Linked DNA regions of Homo sapiens: region 2 is linked to region 1. The links are contacts of gene promoters, found by promoter capture Hi-C in human tissues and cell types (Jung and others, 2019). All regions are on one chromosome and are shown on one strand. Each heading gives the region's core, a stretch centred on a gene start or on the middle of the fragment in contact. The rest is flanking DNA. Distances are from core to core; before and after follow the strand shown. Region 1 holds the start of CHADL (chondroadherin like). Region 2 has its middle 12 kb from the start of MCHR1.

What was found. Contacts are between HindIII fragments. The study calls those that stand out against the background at their distance.
Region 2: a fragment that was not itself captured here is called in contact with the fragment with the promoter of CHADL in region 1 in 1 of the 25 tissues and cell types used here (lymphoblastoid cells).

Annotation. Positions count from the first base shown.
Region 1 is chr22:41,239,065-41,243,496 of GRCh38, reverse strand. It overlaps CHADL (chondroadherin like), which reads left to right and starts at 2,566. Exons shown (of 6, transcript NM_138481.2): 1 at 2,566-2,623; 2 at 3,877-4,054. The coding sequence starts at 2,616. RefSeq lists enhancers at 1,962-2,462, 2,463-2,963, 4,413-4,432. The HindIII fragment of the contact is 27,215 bases long and covers 1-4,432 here.
Region 2 is chr22:40,689,484-40,693,915 of GRCh38, reverse strand. No RefSeq gene overlaps it. Among named protein-coding and RNA genes, the nearest start is that of MCHR1, 12 kb to the right of the region's middle. The HindIII fragment of the contact is 4,122 bases long and covers 452-4,432 here.

The sequences.
Region 1 (4,432 bases), core at 1,317-3,816:
AATAAAAAGCAGAGACCAACTTTAAGTCAGTTCCATTGTGTCTCACTTCTCCACTGACAGCACACCCGCTTACTGCCTGCATTGTGGGCAGACTGCCTCCCGCCCCTGCCCCATGCCACTGTTGTCATATATTTATAGAATGGAAGGCTGGAATGCTGAATTTAAAAAAAAAATTAAAATAGATGAAGCCGGGTGCGGGCTCACACCTGTAAATCCTAGGACTTTGGGAGGTTGAGGCGGGCGGATCACTTGAGGTCAGGAGTTTGTGACCTGCCTGGCCAATATGGTGAGACCCGTCTCTACTAAAAATACAAAAATTAGCTGGGTGTGGTGGCGGGTGCCTGTAATCCCAGCTACTCGGGAAGCTGAAGCAGAATTCCTTGAACCTGGGAGGCGGAGGTTGCAGTGAGCTGAGATCACGCCACTGTACTCTAGCCTGGGCAACGAGAGCTAGACTCCGTCTCAAAAAAAAAATAAAAAGATGATTCTCACTAACATAATATTGAGTGGAAAACGCCAGACACAGCCAGGTGCAGTGGCTCATGCCTGTAATCCTAACGCTTTGGGAGGCCGAGGTGGGAGGATCACTTGTGCCCCGGAGTTCAAGACCAGCCTGGACAACATAGCAAGACCCCAACTCTACAACAAATTTTAAAACCAGCTGGAGGTGGCGGTGCATATCTGGAGGTCCCAGCTGCTTGGGAGGCTGGTATGTCAAGGCCGCAGTGAGCCATGATCACACTTCACTCACACCTGGGCAACAGTGAGACCCTGTCTCAAAAAAAGGACGAAAGAGCACACTGAAGTTCCATTGATTGGAATTTGCCAAGCAAAAAAAGCACAAAGCAGATGGCTGTGTGGCATGGCACTATTTCTTTTTTTAAAATGTTACTGCAGGGCTGGGCGTGGTGACTCATGCCTGTAATCCCAGCACTTTGGGAGATCAAGGCGGGCAGATCACTTGAGGTCAGGAGTTCGGGACCGGCCTGGCCAACATGGCGAAACCCCGTCTCTACTAAAAATGCAAAAATTAACCAGATGTGGTGGTACACATCTGTCATCCCAGCTACTTGGGAAGCTGAGGCAGGAGAATCGCATGAACCAGGGAGGTGGAGGTTGCAGTGAGCTCCAGCCTGGGCGATAAAGTGAGACTCTGTCTCAAAAAACAAAAAACTCCTGCAGTCTAGGAAAAGTACACACAGATGTTCATTGTTTAACATATATAAATATATATAAACATATACATTTATATTTTTATTATATATAAATATATACACACATAAGTGTATACACACACACATACATATATATATATATATATATATATATATATATATATATATATATATATATGTATATATTTTTTTTCTTTTTTGAGACAGTTTCACTCTGTTGCCCAGGCTAGAGTGCAGTGGCGCCATCTCGGCTCTCGCGTTCATGCCATTTGCCTGCCTCAGCCTCCCAAGTAGCTGGGACTACAGGCGCCTGCCACCACACCCGGCTAATTTTTTGTACTTTTAGTAGAGATAGGGTTTCACTGTGTTAGCCAGGATGGTCTTGATCTCGACCTCGTGATCCACCCGCCTCCGCCTCCCAAAGTGCTGGGATTACAGGCGTGAGCCACCGCGCCCGGCCTTTTTTTTTTCTCTTGAGACAGAGTCTGTGTTGCCCAGGCTGGTCTCAAACTCCTGGGCTCAAGTGATCCTCCCACCTCAGCCTCCCAAAGTGCTGGGATTACAGGCATGAGCCACTGTGCCTGACCCCTGTTTCCAATTAAAGGAACAAACAGTAGAAGATGCAATTCCATCAGAAGCAGGAATCTGAAAAATCAAGATACATGAACATTGGCCATGGTCTGGATGTATTATTTAAAAAACAAACACGAGCTTGGGAAGATGCGTATTTGGATATTCTTTGCAATATTGTTTGTAAATAGCAAAAAATTGGAGGTAGCCAATGTCCAAGATGAATGGCTAAGTCAATGTGATACATTTACACAATGGAATACTATATACCACAGAATAATGAGATTCGGAAGAGTCAATTTGGATAACTCCCAGTAATCTGAGGTTAAGTGAAAAAAATGAGTGTCTAGAATCCTGTGTGTCCAGTATTAAACTATTTATGTCAATGTGTAAGCACAAACGGAAGGAAAGGGTCACCTGTTCTGAAGCACCCACTGTGTGCCAGGTGCGGGCCTGAACCCCCACTGTGACCTCAGAGCTACTTATTAATGGGATGTGTTTTTCAGAGACTAGGAAGCAGCCTCTGGGAGGGCAGCCCACATGGCAGGAGGGAGCCCAGGACTGCTGACTCCCGGGCCAGCTGCTGGTGCCCCCTCCCTGTCGGGCTGGCCCAAGGATTCAGGCCGGGGCCTCAGTCCTCGGCTGGGGCAGGCAGGAGGCCCTGTAACTCCAGCCGCTGCTCCCGCCCGCCGCCCGCCCCTTCTTCACCTCAGCCTGGGGAAGCCTGGCTTGCCTGGTCTGCCGACAATGCCTCCCATTCAGCCCTGTCCCAGCTGCCAGGCCTGCGGGCCGTGGAGGGGGGCTCCTGCCAGGCGGGGACAGCCTGTCCCTGCGCTGCGCCTCCAGGCTGGACCAGCAGTTCCAGGCGGCATGGAGGGGTGAGTCTTTGGGCCCGATGGTGCAAGGGGGGATTCAGAGCAGCTCAGTGGCCTCAGGTAAGTCTCTGCCCCCTCTGGGCCTCTCAGAGGCTGGCGGGCAGGGGCTCTGGGGACTTCCTGGGGTTCTCCAGGAAGGGGGTCTCCCAAGGTGGGCTCTGAGACACGTGGCAATGTGGCCACTGCCAGGAACTGGTCCTCTGGGGCTTGTCTGAGAGCCCAGCAGTGGTCCCTGCATTATGAATGCTTGTCGCTTCAGCGATCTGTCCCCATGGGTCCCCTCCCTGGCCTGCCCTGAGGCACAGCCTTCACCACAGGCTCTGGAGAAGCCACCAACTCCAACGCAGGGGCTGGAGCCTGGGACCCAAAGGAGACTCCAAAACAGACGATAGTCCAGTGAGCAGCGAGGGGGAGGCTCCTGGGGGCCGGGGAACAGCCCAGCGATGGGGGAGAGGCCATGCCTGACACAGGCTGAGAACAGAGGGGCCAGCTGGGCAGGGGAGGTGATCTATCATCCTAGCGCTTTGGGAGGCCAAGGTGGGACAATCACTTGAGGCCAGGAGTTCAAGACCAGCCCGGGCAACATAGCGAGACCCTGTCTCTACCAGAAGTAATTAAAAAATTAGCCAGGCGTGGTGGTGTGTGCCTGTAGTCCCAGCTACTCAAGAGGCTGAGGTGAGAGGATCACTTTAGCCCAGGAGGTGAAGGCTGCAGTAAGCCATAGTCATTCCACTGCACTCCAGACTCCAGCCTGGGCAACAGAGCAAGGCTTGTCTCTATTTAAACAAACAAACAAAAAAAGACTCAAGGACCCGGACTGGATGCCTCCCTCCTTTCTGGGGGGTACCATTATGCTCCTGCCACCTGGGAGCTGGCATCATATCAGTCTGAGGACAGGCTGCTTCCGAGCCTACCCTGGACCAGAGCCTCACCACAGCCTGAGAACATGCTCTGAACTGGAGTCATTCTCACAGTCAGCAAGTCCTCACTGAGCCATTGGGCAGAGGCAAAGGGACTAACCAGGTCACTTTTCTGAGCCTCGGTTTCCTCCCATGTAAAACAGGACTAATCATAGGACCTCCACTGCGTGGGGGGTGGGGGGCAGGGAGGCTCAGGGTGATTGGCACTTTCCTGGGCCCAAAGGAGGAGGCTCTGAGGGGTTTTTGGGGCAGGAGCTGCACCATGGCTGGGACTAAGTGAGGGACAGCATGTGGCCTCGGCCCTTGTGCACAACAGACTCTCCCTCCCCGTCCCAGGCCCCGGAGCTCCACCCATGTCCCCTTGGTGCTGCCGCTTCTTGTACTTCTGCTGCTGGCCCCGGCTAGGCAGGCCGCCGCCCAGCGCTGCCCACAGGCCTGCATCTGTGACAACTCCAGGCGACACGTTGCCTGCCGGTACCAGAACCTCACTGAGGTGCCAGACGCCATCCCTGAGGTCAGCAGGGCAGGAGCACAGGCACAGAGTGGCAGTGGGGCAAGGTGGGGACCCAGAGGGAGGAGCCTGGGCTGGGCACCAGTTGATCTGCCACCGCCTGCCCGGGAGACCTTGGCAAATTACTTCTCTTTGAGCCTCAGTTTACACTTCTGTAAAATGGGAATAATAAAAACCAGTAACAGGGAGATGATCTATTTAAAATCCTTACTGTGTGAATGGAATAAGTAGGTGACCCATAGATCGATACTGAATTCACTGCAGACCCTGTGGTGGAGAGGCGGGCTGTGGCAGGGTGAGGTGTGGTCTCTGCTCTGCAGAGTCATCAGCTAGTGGAGGAGAGAGAGCGAGGAGGCAGGGACAGCACAGTGTGAAAAATGC
Region 2 (4,432 bases), core at 1,263-3,762, 550 kb after region 1:
ACTAATATTTAGGCCAGGAGTGGTGGCTCACACCTGTAATCCCAGCACTTTGGGAGGCCGAAGTGGGAGGATCACTTGAGGTCAGAAATTCGAGACCAGCCTGGCCAACATGGCGAAACCCTGTCTCTACTAAAAATACAAAAATTACCCGGGCGTGGTGGCAGGTGACTGTAATCGCAGCTACACAGGAGGCTGAGGCAGAAGAATCACTTAAATCCAGGAGGCGGAGGTTGCAGTGAGCTGAGATCGAGCCATTGCACTCCAGCCTGGGTGACAGAGCGAGACTCCATCTCAAAAAACAAAAAAACAAAAAACAGAGAAACATAAAAAACTAACATTTATTAAGTGCTTTAGGCATAGTATTAAGTGCTGTCCATGTTTAGTAGGGAGAAAAAAAAATCACCCTTTTAAAATCATGCTACAAATAGTACTTATTGCTCCAGGCCAAAATCGCAAGTATAAATGTCAGACAAGGATAAGGGAGTGATTCAGGCCAAGTGTTACCATAGGGAGTGGTGGCGATTGTGGCAAACTAGGGAGCATTTGCTTCCCCTAAAAGAGGCAGTTGCGCCAGGTGTAGTGGCGCACGTCTGTAATCCCAGCACTTTGGGAGGCCAAGGCAGGCGGATCATGAGGTCAGGAGATCGAGACCATCCTGGCTAACATGGTGAAACCCCGTCTCTACTAACAATACAAAAAATTAGCCGGGTGTGGAAGCGGGCGCCTGTAGTCTCCGCTACTCGGGAGGCTGAGGCAGGAGAATTGCTTGAACCCGGGAGGCGGAGGTTGCAGTGAGCCGAGATCGTGCCACTGCACTCCAGCCTGCCAATACAGCGAGACTCGGTCTCAAATAAATAAATAAATAAATAAATAAATAAATCTCCTCCCACAAATCTGATTCCCCTTCAGTTTCCCTATTTCAATCAATGGCCCCTCCATCCTCCATCACACGTGCCATCAACACATTCCACTTCACCCTCCACATCCAGCTCTTCCCAATGTCTGTGGCTTCTCCTTTACAAACACATCTCATATGTGTCCACCTCTCGCCGCCTCCACTGCCACCACCCTAATCCAGGCCGTTACCATTGCTGCTGTACAGGGTCGCCTGGTCTCCAGGGTCGGTGGGTCTCCTTGCTTTCATTTTCCACCTGCTTCTATCCCATTCTCTATACAGAATCTATAGTGATGATTTAAGGATGAAAATCTAATCATATTGAGGCAGGATAATAGGGAATTAGGGTAACCATGGGTTAAGGCATAAGCAAAAGAACAGCAGATGCAGCCAGTTCTAGGCAAGACTGGGCTGCACACAGGCCGCACCCTCACTCCTATGATAACAAGACAGAAGTTTCCACTTCAGCCTCTGATTGGTCGTGGGCCAATCCTTCATAAGGTGTAACCAACTGGAGGCCTCTAAAGGGCACCTAGGGGTGTTACCAAATTCTTTTTTTCTTTTCTTTTTCTTTTTTTTTTTTTTTTTTTGAGACGGAGTTTCGCTCTTGTTGCCCAGGCTGGAGCGCAATGGCGAGATCTTGGCTCACCACAACCTCCAACTCCTTGGTTCAAGCGATTCTCCTGCCTCAGCCTCTGGAGTAGCTGGGATTATAGGCATGTGCCACCACGCCCAGCTAATTTTGCATTTTTAGTAGAGACCGGGTTTCACCATGTTGGCCAGGCTGGTCTTGAACTCCCAATCTCAGGTAATCTGGCCGCCTTGGCCTCCCAAAGTCCCGGGATTACAGGCGTGAGACACCGCGCCCAGCCACCAAATTCTTTTAGCTTAATAAAAACCCTAAAGAACATTGTAATCGGGACTTTTAACCCACTTGCTTGAGCCGGCTCACGCTCTGTACTTTCACGTCAATAAATCTGCGCTTTCGTTGCTTGTTTCTTCTTTTGTTGCTTCGTTCTTTCATTGCTTTGTGTGTTTTGTTTAATTCTTTGTTCAATGTGCCAAGAATCTGGACAACTTACAGTCAAGACCTTCTATCCAGTAACAATATCATTCCTATGTGGAAAGCCTTTTGATGATTTCTCTTGGCTTTGGTATAAAATCCAAAATCATTGATGTGGTTCACAAAGCTCTATTTGATGAGCTGGACCCAGGGATATGAAATTAAATGTCTGTATGGTACAGGCAAGTGACTTAAGTAAATAAAGCTGGCTGAGTCAAGGGGACAATAGGGAGGAGTGGAGACTGTGGCAAACTGGGGAGTGCATGACTGCCTAAGAGTGTAGCTTCTTGCATCCAGCAGACTGTTGGCACATGGGAAGGTAAACCCTGTAGCCAGATCTTCTGATATTTCAAGGGAAGCTGGTCACCCAGATTTTTAAGTAAAGCTATGGATTCAAAAGCTGGCAACTAATTCACAATCTTTTTTATACCATGCAAGAGAAAAACAAAAAACCACATCTGTGGGTTGGATGAACTTCTCAGCAGCCAAATGTTGGATTCTACTCTATACTCTAAAGATCCTGGACAGAACTTCTGTTAGAAGATTACTAATACTTTTTCTTTTTCTTTTTTCTTTTCTTTCTTTTTTTTTTTTTTTTTTTTTTTTTTTTTTGATACAAGCTCTCACTCTGTTGCCTAGGTTGGAAGGCAGTGGTGCAATCTCAGCTCACTGCAGCCTTTATCTCCTGGGCTCAAGTGATCCTCCCCCCACCTCAGCCTCCCAAGTAGCTGGGTCTACAGGCATGCTCTCACCATGCCCAACTAATTTCTGTATTTTTCGTAGAGACGGGGTTTTGCCATGTTGCCCAGACTGGTCTTGAATTCCTGAACTTATGCAATCCACCCATCTCAGCCTCCCAAAGTGCCAGGATTACAGGAGTGAGCCACCATGCTCAGCCAGAAAAATTACTAATACTTTTGTTGGACAAGCATTTAACAGGTTTTTTTTGAGGGTGGTGTGCAAAGATAAAGCGTCTCTTCTCCCCCTTTCGCCAGTAAGAGAGACTGAGGCACAGAGGAATACGCTGTGGTGCGTAATACAGTGAAGGGGCGTCTTCCTTGGCATGAACTATTTTGCCTTGTACACTGAATTGTGGATTTTCTCCAGGTTAGCCAGAAGAGGGGAGTTTTGGAGATCCTGGAACTGGGAGGAGAGAGGAAATGGGAAATGGGAAAAGGGGTCTCACCCAGTGTCTATGGCTCGGACCTGGGACAGCAGGCCAGGCCTGGGAGGGCAGGATGGCCTCTCCCCACAATGACAGAATGCAACAGGCAGACTGCAGGGATTGTGAGGACTGCCAGCCAACTCCAGTGCTATCCGATTCTGGACTGTCACCCGCCCCCCACCTTCCCTGCTTTGACAATCCCCAGCCCCAGCCTCGGGCTTGCACTAGCACTGGCTGCCTTGGGGGGAAGCACCTGCAGAGAGGTAGAGCAGCTTGGAGAGGTAGTGACCAGCCAAGCAATGACCTGAGCCCGAGGCAGCAGGTAACCACACAGAGATATTTGGGAAGGCACTGGCTGGCCCATCGCCTCGCAGGATGGAGACTTAAGTGGGTTTATATGAATGTTATTTCCGGTTAAGGTGTCCCTGGGAGCACTTGGGTTACACTTGCAACATCTCATTTAATCATCCTGATTTTACACCCCCTGAGCTAGGTGATATCGAGGTGCAAGTCTAGGGATTTCCCTGCCTTTCTGGGGAGAGAAGGGGCACAGGATCTCTGACGGGGAGAGCCCTGAGAGGAGAAAGCTTCGAAGAGAGGCAGCCGGGGGATGGAAGCCCGATCTGCTTTGACGGATTCAAGAGGGAGCAGTGACTCTTTTCTTTTGGGTGTTGCCCTTCTGTGTAGTCCAAGATCACCACCATTCATCACAAATGGAGGAGACAGCTTTGCAGAGAATTAAGTGAGTGGCTTATCCATCCCATGTCTGACCATCTGGAAGGTTCCTCCCTCGGCTGTCCTCAGGATTAGATCTGAGGTTGGTGTACTCCAGTGAGGTTGTGTGGCAGGCCAGGTCCCACTCATGCAGGCCTCCATAACAACAGTTTCAGTACTGACTGAGTGGTTAAGTTAAATATTAAAAGATGGCTGAGCGCAGTGGCTCACACCTGTAATCCCAGCACTTTGGGAGGCCAAAGCAGGTTGATCACCTGAGGTCAGGAGTTCGAGACCAGCCTGGCCAACATAGTGAAACATCGTCTCTACTAAAAATATAAAAATTAGCTGGGCATGGTGGCACGCACCTGTAATCTCAGCTACTCTAGAGGCTGAGGCAGGAGAATCTCTTGAACCTAGGAGGCGGCAATTGCAGTGAGCCAAGATCTCACCATTGCACTCCAGCTGTGGGTGACAGAGCAAGACTCTTGTCTCAAAAAAAAAATAAAAATAAAAATAAAAATAAAAAAATAAAAAATTGCTGAAAGAGCCAGTGTGCTTATACAAAGGCTGGAATGTAACAAAAGTTCACCAA